Regions from separate parts of the Homo sapiens genome. Here region 2 is linked to region 1. The links are contacts of gene promoters, found by promoter capture Hi-C in human tissues and cell types (Jung and others, 2019). All regions are on one chromosome and are shown on one strand. The core of a region is centred on a gene start or on the middle of the fragment in contact, and the rest is flanking DNA. Distances in the headings are between cores, read along the strand shown.

Region 1 (4,953 bases), core at 478-2,977:
AATGTTGGTCCTTGCTCTGACCTCACTCTTTCCAGGAGTATCCATCCAAAGCCTCTCTAAACTGTGGAGCTCAGTACTCCATATAAAGCAGTGACTCCTATCACAATCTCTACAAGACATTTAACTCAAAACTCCAGAAGCTTTCACAGCACCAAGCAAAAATGTAAGATGCTACCATTTGTATCTATTGCGGCAAAAATTGGATAGAGTGCCTTTTTAACTTTGCAGTAAAATTCAAGGCACTTCACCTATTATTTTAGACTTTCATCAGTTTTGAGCACAATATCCATTCACCTTTGCCAACAGTTTCTTTTAATGCATTAGTACAAAATTCCTCAAGTGGTATATAAAAATTTTGGTTGTCAGTTCCAGAAAAATAATGGGGGAAGGAGAGTGGGTAAAAACAGGTTCAAGGCCACACATCAGTTTTCCTTTTAAAAAAAGTTTTAACCCTAAATTTGCAGCGCATATATATATATATATATATATATATATACATACACACACACACATATATACATATGTGTATGTATATACATATACATCATATATATATAGCACTTCACTTTATTGGAATTCTTCCTTGGTCATAAATTATATTTCAAGTTGGCAAAAAATGTTGATCAGAATTTCAAAAAAGGGAAGCATCAAAGTAACCAGCATGGGGTTTTTCAAGTGTGCAGAAAGTTCTCTAAATACAAAATGTGCTTCCAGCCCACCAAAGACCCCCCTCACCCAAGCAGGCAGTCCTCGGCGAGGAGGGTCAGCATGCCCCTTTATGGTCAGAACGGCAGTGGTGCAAAAGACAATGATTTCAACCAAATATGGTTTGCCTCTCGCCAAATTTTTCGCATGTCCAATAAAAATAAGTTCACAAAAATCCAGCCAAGCATTACTTTCCCCCCAAAAGTGCTTCTCAGATTACAAAACAGCTTTGAAAGTTCAGCCTGACAAAACAAATATGGTACTAGGAGGAGAGACCTGGAAGGCAATCACAAAAAGTCTCATTTAAATTCCTGGAAAGCACAGCTTCTCCAAACACAGCTATTCAGCTCTTTGGAAGGCAGCACTTGCGGGAGCCATTGAGTTTAACTTCACTCAGTCCCCCAACACAGAACCGGCAAATCCGAATGAGATGGACGTCACACTCCCTACTCAAAAGAATGCATCAAATATCCACTCCGTAACACCGCGGAAAGTAAACCCAAAAGCGGAGTTTGCCGCCTGCCAACTACATAAGAATTAACACTCGGGTATTTAGGATTCTAAAGATCCCTACTACCCCAAACATTATAGCCACAGAGAACCAGAAATGAACAGAACACACTTTAACCTTTAAGAAGTGCAGTTTTGTACGGGGGTTGGCTGAAGAAAGACAAAAATCTTCACTCCCTTCCAGAGCCAAAAGAGCCAAAATAAAAGATCACCTTTACTGAGCCACAGGGGCACAACTGTATCCGCCCGTCCCCAAAGCGCAAGCCGTCCTCCCGTTCGCTTCTCCAGAATTTCCTGCTTTTCCCCAAACCACCTTCAACATTCCCCACACACGGGTCTCGCTCCTAAACACGGAGTGTAACTCCGCGCACAGCAGCGCGGAGGCTGCAGCGCCACCAAGAAAGGCGTCGCCAACCCTTACCCAGTGCCCTCCCTTACCAGCCTTCTTCCCACGCCGCGCCTCGAAGCGCACGACACCGTGGTGCTCGGTGCTCCCCCTGGCAGCGCGGCACTGGAGTCCAAGGCGTGCGTGTCACATTTTATTCCCCGGCAGCCGCTCGGGTGCGCGCGCTACGCGCTCCCACACTCACGCTGGCGCCCGCTAGAGCTGGGACCCTGGCCGGGGTCCCCGACTCACGCCGCGGAACTTGGGGGCTGCAGAAGGCGAGTGCGCGGCGGGAGTCGTCCTGCCGCAGGCTCGAGTCCTCCTCCTGCCACCGTGGGGTCTCGGAGCTGCCCCGCGCTCCCGTCCCAGGCGGCCTGCGGGATCACCTCTCCGGGGCCAGCGCTGCTCCGCGCCGGCGGCAGCTGCAAGCGCGGGCGGCGGGGCACAGCGGGTGGCTCGGCCTCAAAGCCGGCGGGAGGCTACGCTCAGCCCCGCGCTGCACGCCTCATTGTTTCGGGCAGCGCGGCGGCGGCTCCCGCGGCCAGAGGAACCGCGGCCCCGAGCCCCGGGGAGAGGCGGCGGTTCCCGGCCCACGCACCGAGGCTGCGCCGCGCCCCGCCCCCGAGCTCCGCTCGCCCCAGAGCCCCCTCCCTCTCCGCGATCCCTTTCATCCTTCCCGCTCCAGGCTCACCTAGCTGGCGGGAGCCGGGCACTGGGAAGTTGGGCTGCCCCCTCCCCGCGCCCCCGGCCCGGCAGCTCGGCCCGCCGGCGAGCGCAGGCGGGGCGCTCCCTGGCTGCGCGCGGATTTCTGCTTGTCGCGGAGAGTGACTGCAGACTTGGGCTGCGTGGGGCGGTGCGGGGCAGCACGGCTGCCTAAAAAGGCGTGTTTCTCCCCGGCCGCCGCCTCCATCCAGCCCTAGTTCTTCCGAAGGTTACCTGCACAGTACCCGCCTGGCACCGCGCCTGGACACCTCCGGGGCACTCGGGTCCCGGGCGGCGGCAGGAATGCAGGAATGCGCACAGGCTGTGGGCGGCCAGGAGGGAGTCCCGGCGCCTGCCCCGGCGGAAGTGAGTCTTTGTGTACCCTGTCCAACACCTCCCCCCGCCAGCGCGGAAGGCCGGGCTACCTGCGCGCCTGGCAGCGCCTGGCAGCCGGCTGGGTGGGGCGCAGGGGAGCGCAGCATCCTCCCCGGCTCGCTAGCTCCCTTTGTTCATCTCGCTCAACCAGGCTCCGCACTGCCGCCTGGCCCTCGCTCCCAGAGCTTCTCTAAGGATATGGGATGGACTTGGGAGCGGGCCACCTTTCATTTGGGAAGGGTAGCTCGCCAAGTCCGGTGACGGTGCTCCCTGGAGACCCCCACCTGCCCGCCCCTCCACACTGCCGGTCCCCAACCCCAAGAGGGACGGAAAGTTCTTGGGGTAGAAGCCGGCGGGACAAGTGGTTGAAGCAGCCTCCGGAGCCAGTGGGCGGCTGCGAGCTGGGCAGCTGGAGCCTGCGGGCGGGGCCGCGGGGAGGTGCCCATCGAGTGTCGGTCTGGTCGCGTGCGGAATGTCCACTTGTCACCGCGGCCCTTGCGTTTTCTCGAGACGGCGGCAGCTGGTCCTAGGACCCCAAACCGCGCCGCCCTTTGTTTGCTGGTAAATACTCTCCTGTGAACTTCAGCGTGTCTCTCCGCGCGCACTCCTGGCATTGGGTGCCCCACCCCGCTGGTTCTCTCGCGGACCCAAAGAGCTGTTCAGGTGTAGGGGAATCCCAGGTAGATGGATAATATTGCTAAGGTTGGGCCCATCTCAGGGGGACTGGTTAGTCACCCCTCACCCCACCCCACACCCTCAGTCGCTAGAAGGACACACGTTTTGGAGACAGAGATCTGCCATTAAATGTATTATTTAAAAATCCGCAAATACTTTTATTCAAGTAATTTAGACTTTTTTTTTAGGGGGGAAAAAGCAATTAACTGGCTACCCAATTCATTCAGCATTCATTAGTGCCTACCTTAGCCTGGAACTCTGAGCTAGACAGTGGGCGCCCAGAACTCCCTCAAAGAGTTTACAGAAATGTAAAACAGCACGGGAATTAAACTAAAATCGAGTGGGTATAATGCACTGTGTTCAAACAAAAGTGTGGGCCGAAAACGCTTACTCAGTATTTCCCCAATTGTATTAATTATGTCTGACACATGGAATTCTGCGGAACTGCCTGAATGAACAATGTGTTACACAGATATTTTTTAAAAAAAGAAAAATTATGGCCGGGCGCGGTGGCTCACGCCTGTAATCCCAGCACTTTGGGAGGCCGAGGCGGGTGGATCATGAGGTCAGGAGATCGAGACCATCCTGGCTAACAAGGTGAAACCCCGTCTCTACTAAAAATACAAAAAATTAGCCGGGCGCGGTGGCAGGCGCCTGTAGTCCCAGCTACTCGGGAGGCTGAGGCAGGAGAATGGCGTGAACCCGGGAAGCGGAGCTTGCAGTGAGCCGAGATTGCGCCACTGCAGTCCGCAGTCCGGCCTGGGCGACAGAGCGAGACTCCGTCTCAAAAAAAAAAAAAAAAAAAAAAAAAAAAAAAAGAAAAATTATATTTTATAAATGTGAAATACATACAGTGTGGTTAAAAGTGACCAAAACAAAACAGAAACAAACAACCTGATAGAGACCCATAGCTGGTGGGGATAGAGAAAGGAAATACTGCAGAAAGACTCACCTTCTTAATAGTAGAGGGGCGCAGAGGGGGTTGCAAAGTCTGTGGGCTTCTGTTTCTCTTCTGTATAATGGATGTAATAGTACCTACCTTCAGCCTGGCGCGGTGGCTCACACCTGTAATCCCAGTACTTTGGGAGGCCGAGGCGGGCGGATCACGAGGTCAGGAGTTCGAGACCAGCCTGGCCATAATGTTGAAACCTGTCTCTACTAAAAATACAAAAATGAACCGGGCGTGGTGGCAAGCGCCAGTAGTCCCAGCTACTCGAGAGGCTGAGGCAGGAGAATCGCTTGAACCTGGGAGGCGGAGGTTGCAGTGAGCCAAGCTGGTGCCACTGCACTCCAGCCTGGGTGACAGAGAGAGACTCCCTCTCAAAAAAAAAAAAAAAAAAAAAATTATATAGTATCTATCTTCAAGGTTTGTTGTAAGTAGAGAGCATGTGTTAAAAGCATCTCCCCCAGTGCCTGACATGTTATACCTAATAAATTGTAGTAATTAATAAATGACAGTGGCCATTATTAAAACACTTTACCTTGAAACAGAAAAAATTGTACACTTTTTATAGTGTATATATATCTTATACACTTACTATCCTTTCTGCGTAAATACTGCCAAAGTTGATATCTTAAAGAAATTTTAATGAGTTAAATAA
Region 2 (4,566 bases), core at 1,495-3,994, 46 kb before region 1:
ACAACTGAAAGGAAAAGAACTCTGAGTATACTTACCAGAATAGTTTTTTCTCATGGACCCTCGAAAGGGTCTTGCAAAGGCTAAGGGTAAGCTTAGATCTCACTGTTCCCACTGCTAAGCTAGGGAAACCCTCTGGTTGCAGACAGTGAGAGGAGACTCCACCAGCGAGGTGACTGCAGGTGCTGGGAGGGAATCAGCCCTAAGCCAGAGAGGAAGTGTGATGCCAGCAATCCTCAATCTCAGTTCTCTCCAAACCACGCTACCCACCCCTCAGACACAGCCTACCCAAGGGCCTCAAGCGGTGGGTGCATTTCTATTATTTGACTAATAAATCTGAATTAATTGCATCACCCTTGAAAACATCCCAGCATTTAAATGCCCATTGTCTTATTGTGGAGCTGTGCTCTAAACCATCCAAGGACTTCACGAGGCACAGGGCACAGAAAGATAACGCAGTGTAATTCCTTTGGAGGTGGTATTAGTCTGCAGAGTTAAAAGGCCACCTGCATGGAGAGGGCAGGGAGGCAGGGTCATGTAGGCTTGTGGCTAGGCCCAGTGCAAGCCCTCTATGAACAGCCACTGTGAGCAGCGTGGGGTTGGGATGGAAGGGGAGGGTGCGCTGAGACTGTCTCTCACACAGACACGTTCTGTAAACGTACACCTGGCTGTGCATTCCTTGATAATGCACTGTGAGAATAGAAGCTGTCCATTCATATTTAGAAAAAAAGGAATAGGTCAGACAGCAAATACAAGGGGAAGAAAGTCAAGTTCCATTTCTGGAGAAGGCATTTCCAGGCCAGAACCATGCTGTGTTGTCCTTGAGAATGGAGCCAGACAAGTGCATCCATGGAAGGAAAATTAAAGCCCTTCAAGGAGCTGCTGGGCCAGCACCCGGTCACCGCCCTGCCCCAGGCCCCATTCACCACATCATCCCCCTCTCCTACACTGATGAGAAAATTCAAACAGCAGGAGAGCAAGCCTCCAGTCACTAGAGAATGGCCTGCCTGGGATTGGACAAAGCATCGCTTTGGGAGCTCCATCACCCTGGGAGCCCTGTTTCTCCCCAGGACCTGTAACCCTCACCTCTTGATGTACTTCCCTTGCACCCTCAAGTCCAGGCTCTGGAGTGATCTCTCTACAGTGACTATCTGCAATGGCTGCACATCATGGGCACAGGGCTGAGAGCTAGTGTTTCTGGAGACCCAGACTGGGGTTTGAATCCAGACTCTGCACATGTGACTGGAGGTACCTTCATTTCCTTATCTGTAAAATGGGAACAAAGTTATCTATCACTTAGGGTTGTAAGGTTTACAACAGTTAGCACATAAAAAGCACTTTGGGTTGGGCACAGTGGCTCACACCTGTACTTCCAGCACTTTGTGAGGCCGAGGCGAGCAGATCACTTGAGGTCAGAAGTTCAAGACCAGCCTGGCCAACATCATGAAACCCCATCTCTACTAAAAACACAAAAATTAGCCGGGTATGGTGGCGCGTGCCTGTAATCCCAGCTACTCGGGAGGCTGACGCAGGAGAATAGCTTGAGCCTGGGAAGTGGAGGTTGCAGTGAGCCAAGATTGTGCCACTACACTCCAGCCTGTGCAACAGCGGGAGACTCCATCTCAAAAAAGCAAAAAAACAAACAAACAAAAAAAACAAGAGCATTTTGAACAGGGCCTTGTCTGTACTATATAAGTGGTACCTGATTTCAATTAAGTGAAGTCTAATATTCATAGAGTGGCTTGCAAGGGCATCCAGGAAGATGATCTGCCTTCCAAGCCTGCTTCTCTCTTCTGTCCCTACGAGCCCATGTACTCCCTGTAGCTCTCACCACCTGCACAACATGCTGTTTCTCACTTCCATATGATGCTGGGCCTTCAGCTTGGTCTCCTCTCCCTGGAGCAGTCTTTACCAATCTCTTCTCTCTACCAGCCCTCAGGGGAGTTAGGAATCCGTTGTCATTTCTGCCTTGTCAGCCTACATATCTCTCTGTCCTTCTCCAACCCACAACACTGGAATTGTCTGTTTACCACTGAAGTGTGCCGGTATGGATAGTTGAGCCTGTGACCTATTCATTTTTGTGTCTAGCCTAGGATCTGGTGGAGAGTTGGTGATCAATAAATAATGCTAATTGGATGAGTATATGGACTGCTTTCTTCTTTCTTGCTTTTTTAAAAGGTAACAGGACATGTCAAATCTCAAGCCCTCTCCACCAGTCTATGCATCCCACCCCCAGTCTCTCCCTCCATGTCCCATTTCCCATGCACTTGCCAGAATTCGAGTTTCAGGTACACAGATCTTGGTTTCCCACATGAAGGCTATTACTGGTGGTTCAGAGCAGACCTTTCTGCTCTGTAACATGTTTCCACATGAATGCTAGTAGCACTGCATAGAAGCAAATTATTATTGCTTATATGCATGGATGAAAACAGATCATCTTATAACTCTAGGAAAGAATGATCCAGGTTTCCAAAACAATTAGTTTGTTTTTCAATAACACATTCACAGTGGAAGTGTTTACAACTGCTCTACTTTTCTAACCAAAACCAATTCCATTGTGTGACCCAGTTCCAACAGAAGGGTAGGGGGATGGGGGCTGCACTGCCAGTGGAGCAAACACCAGGGGGAGCGAAAGGGCAGCCAGTAAGCAAACCTGAGACTGACTGGGTCTCCCTTTGACGTCAGCATGGAGAGGGCTCCTCCTGGCAGAACATAGGTAGGGCTGATAAGCAGTGATCATCTGAGACACTTCCTAGCTCTGCCTTCAATTTTTCATAAGATCGTGATCTTTGGTAAGTCTTTTGATCTTCATTTAGCCAATTCACAAGTAGATGCTTAGCGGCCAACAAGAATTTCGCTACACCATGCCCCCAATATTCTAAGCTGCCTGAAGGAATTTGCTGCCAGAGTTTGTTTGTATTCTGCAAGCCATTCATAACTATGTGGGTTTGCTTGCATATATTCAGGTGAACAGGAAGGAGCGAGGTCGGCACCTGGCATGTACACTGCTGATGCTGAGATACCAACTTATACAAATGAAACTTTTTGTTTATACAAATTGAGCCATGCTATGGTTACATGTTCTTAAAATAGTAGATACAAAATCTGATCCAAACAACCCTAGACAAAACAATAAAGAGAATTTTAAAGAAATTTCCAGGCATGTTCTTCAGTTGTGATTCTACAGTTCTAATCATAAAGGCTCATGCAAGTGCATGCCAAATAAATTAGATTTGGATACTAGAAATTAACAAAGATATAACTGGCATTTCAAGTTTCCCAGAAACATGGACTTCTCAGCGTCTTTCACGTTCTCTTCCAAATTGTAAACAGAGTTTACAAGATTCTGGTCAGGGATATTTATGCAGAAAAAAAGAACGAGGGACTGCCCACTGACATGCAAGAGCAATCCAGATCTTCACCTCTGATGCAGAGGTGTTTAAAACAAAACCAAACCGGAAGCAAGTTACTGCCTGCTTCAAGCATAATACTTAAATTCCTTCTCCACATTATTAATATTGGCTCTCAGAAATGAGAAAGAACTGTGGTGTTATTTCACCCCGGGGACCTCTAAACCACTGCTTCTTCTTAATAAATTGCAGGCTGCTCTGCTCTGGCTTTGGCTACAAGCTTATATGACACATGGACTGTGTTATTATGAGCCTGCTGTAATGTCAGCACAGGGACACAGGTACCCCAGACCTTGATTCCAGACTCACTGTCTTGTTTTTTTTAACTTTAAAAATATTTCTCATTCAGCCTCATGCCCAAGGACTTCTGCTGAGCTGAGATCTGGGCTTCTGAGCCTGCCTACAGTGGCTTCACCCTATTCCGAGAGAACTCTGGAACATAGGCCACTCTTCAAGGACACAGAACAACTAATGGATCCGCTTAAAATGAAGACAACAAAGATTACTTATTTGCAAAGAGGGAGCAACACTCCCGGAATGTCACTTCCAGACCAGTTATGCCCTAACAACGCCTACTGTGAGAGTGTACAGGACATGATTGTTTTATATCTGGACTTGAGGCTGACGCTGTATTTGACTCACATTTGTTTTACTGCTCCTCGTACAGAATCAAGCACATATTAGGGGCTAAACACATATTTGTCAAATGAATGAGCCTAAAGGGCCAAGCTGCTTGCTGACTGGTCTAGCAGTGGAATTAGCCTGGGAAGAAGGGGGGTTCCGGGAGCAAAGGGATCTGAAACTGCTGAGGGAGAGCCCAGCTATGGCAACACAAGAGCCTGGGTATCTCTGGCAAGACAGGGTGAGAGTCTGGGGCAGGTGGGGAAATGAATGTGATCCAGCGAGGAAGGGGAATTCTGAGGAGAGCCAATGCAGGCCCATCTGGTGCAGAACCTACACCACTCTGCAGGAGGGAAACGTATTTGAACCCTGCCATGGCCCCATCAATCAAAAAAGATTAGAATTGGTATTTTACTTGAAAACTAGGAAGAAATAGTGATGGCTAATGTTGTGTGCCATCTTGGCTAGGCCACAGTGCCCAGCTGGTTGGTCAAACACTAGTCCAGATGTTGCTGGGAAGGTGTTTTTAAGATGTGAT

Evidence for each region. The method cuts DNA at HindIII sites, captures the fragments that hold promoters and counts their contacts. A contact is called where the count stands out against the background at its distance.
Region 2: a contact is called between a fragment that was not itself captured here and the fragment with the promoter of ST6GAL2 in region 1, in 1 of the 25 tissues and cell types used here (liver).

Annotation. Positions count from the first base shown.
Region 1 is chr2:106,884,440-106,889,392 of GRCh38, forward strand. It overlaps ST6GAL2 (ST6 beta-galactoside alpha-2,6-sialyltransferase 2), which reads right to left and starts at 1,728. Exons shown (of 6, transcript NM_001142351.2): 1 at 1,654-1,728. LOC124907864 (a long non-coding RNA gene) reads left to right here and starts at 2,094. Exons shown (of 2, transcript XR_007087169.1): 1 at 2,094-2,668. The HindIII fragment of the contact is 7,907 bases long and covers 1-4,953 here.
Region 2 is chr2:106,837,415-106,841,980 of GRCh38, forward strand. All of the region lies in intron 2 of ST6GAL2 (ST6 beta-galactoside alpha-2,6-sialyltransferase 2), which reads right to left. Among named protein-coding and RNA genes, the nearest start is that of ST6GAL2, 46 kb to the right of the region's middle. The HindIII fragment of the contact is 5,765 bases long and covers 1-4,566 here.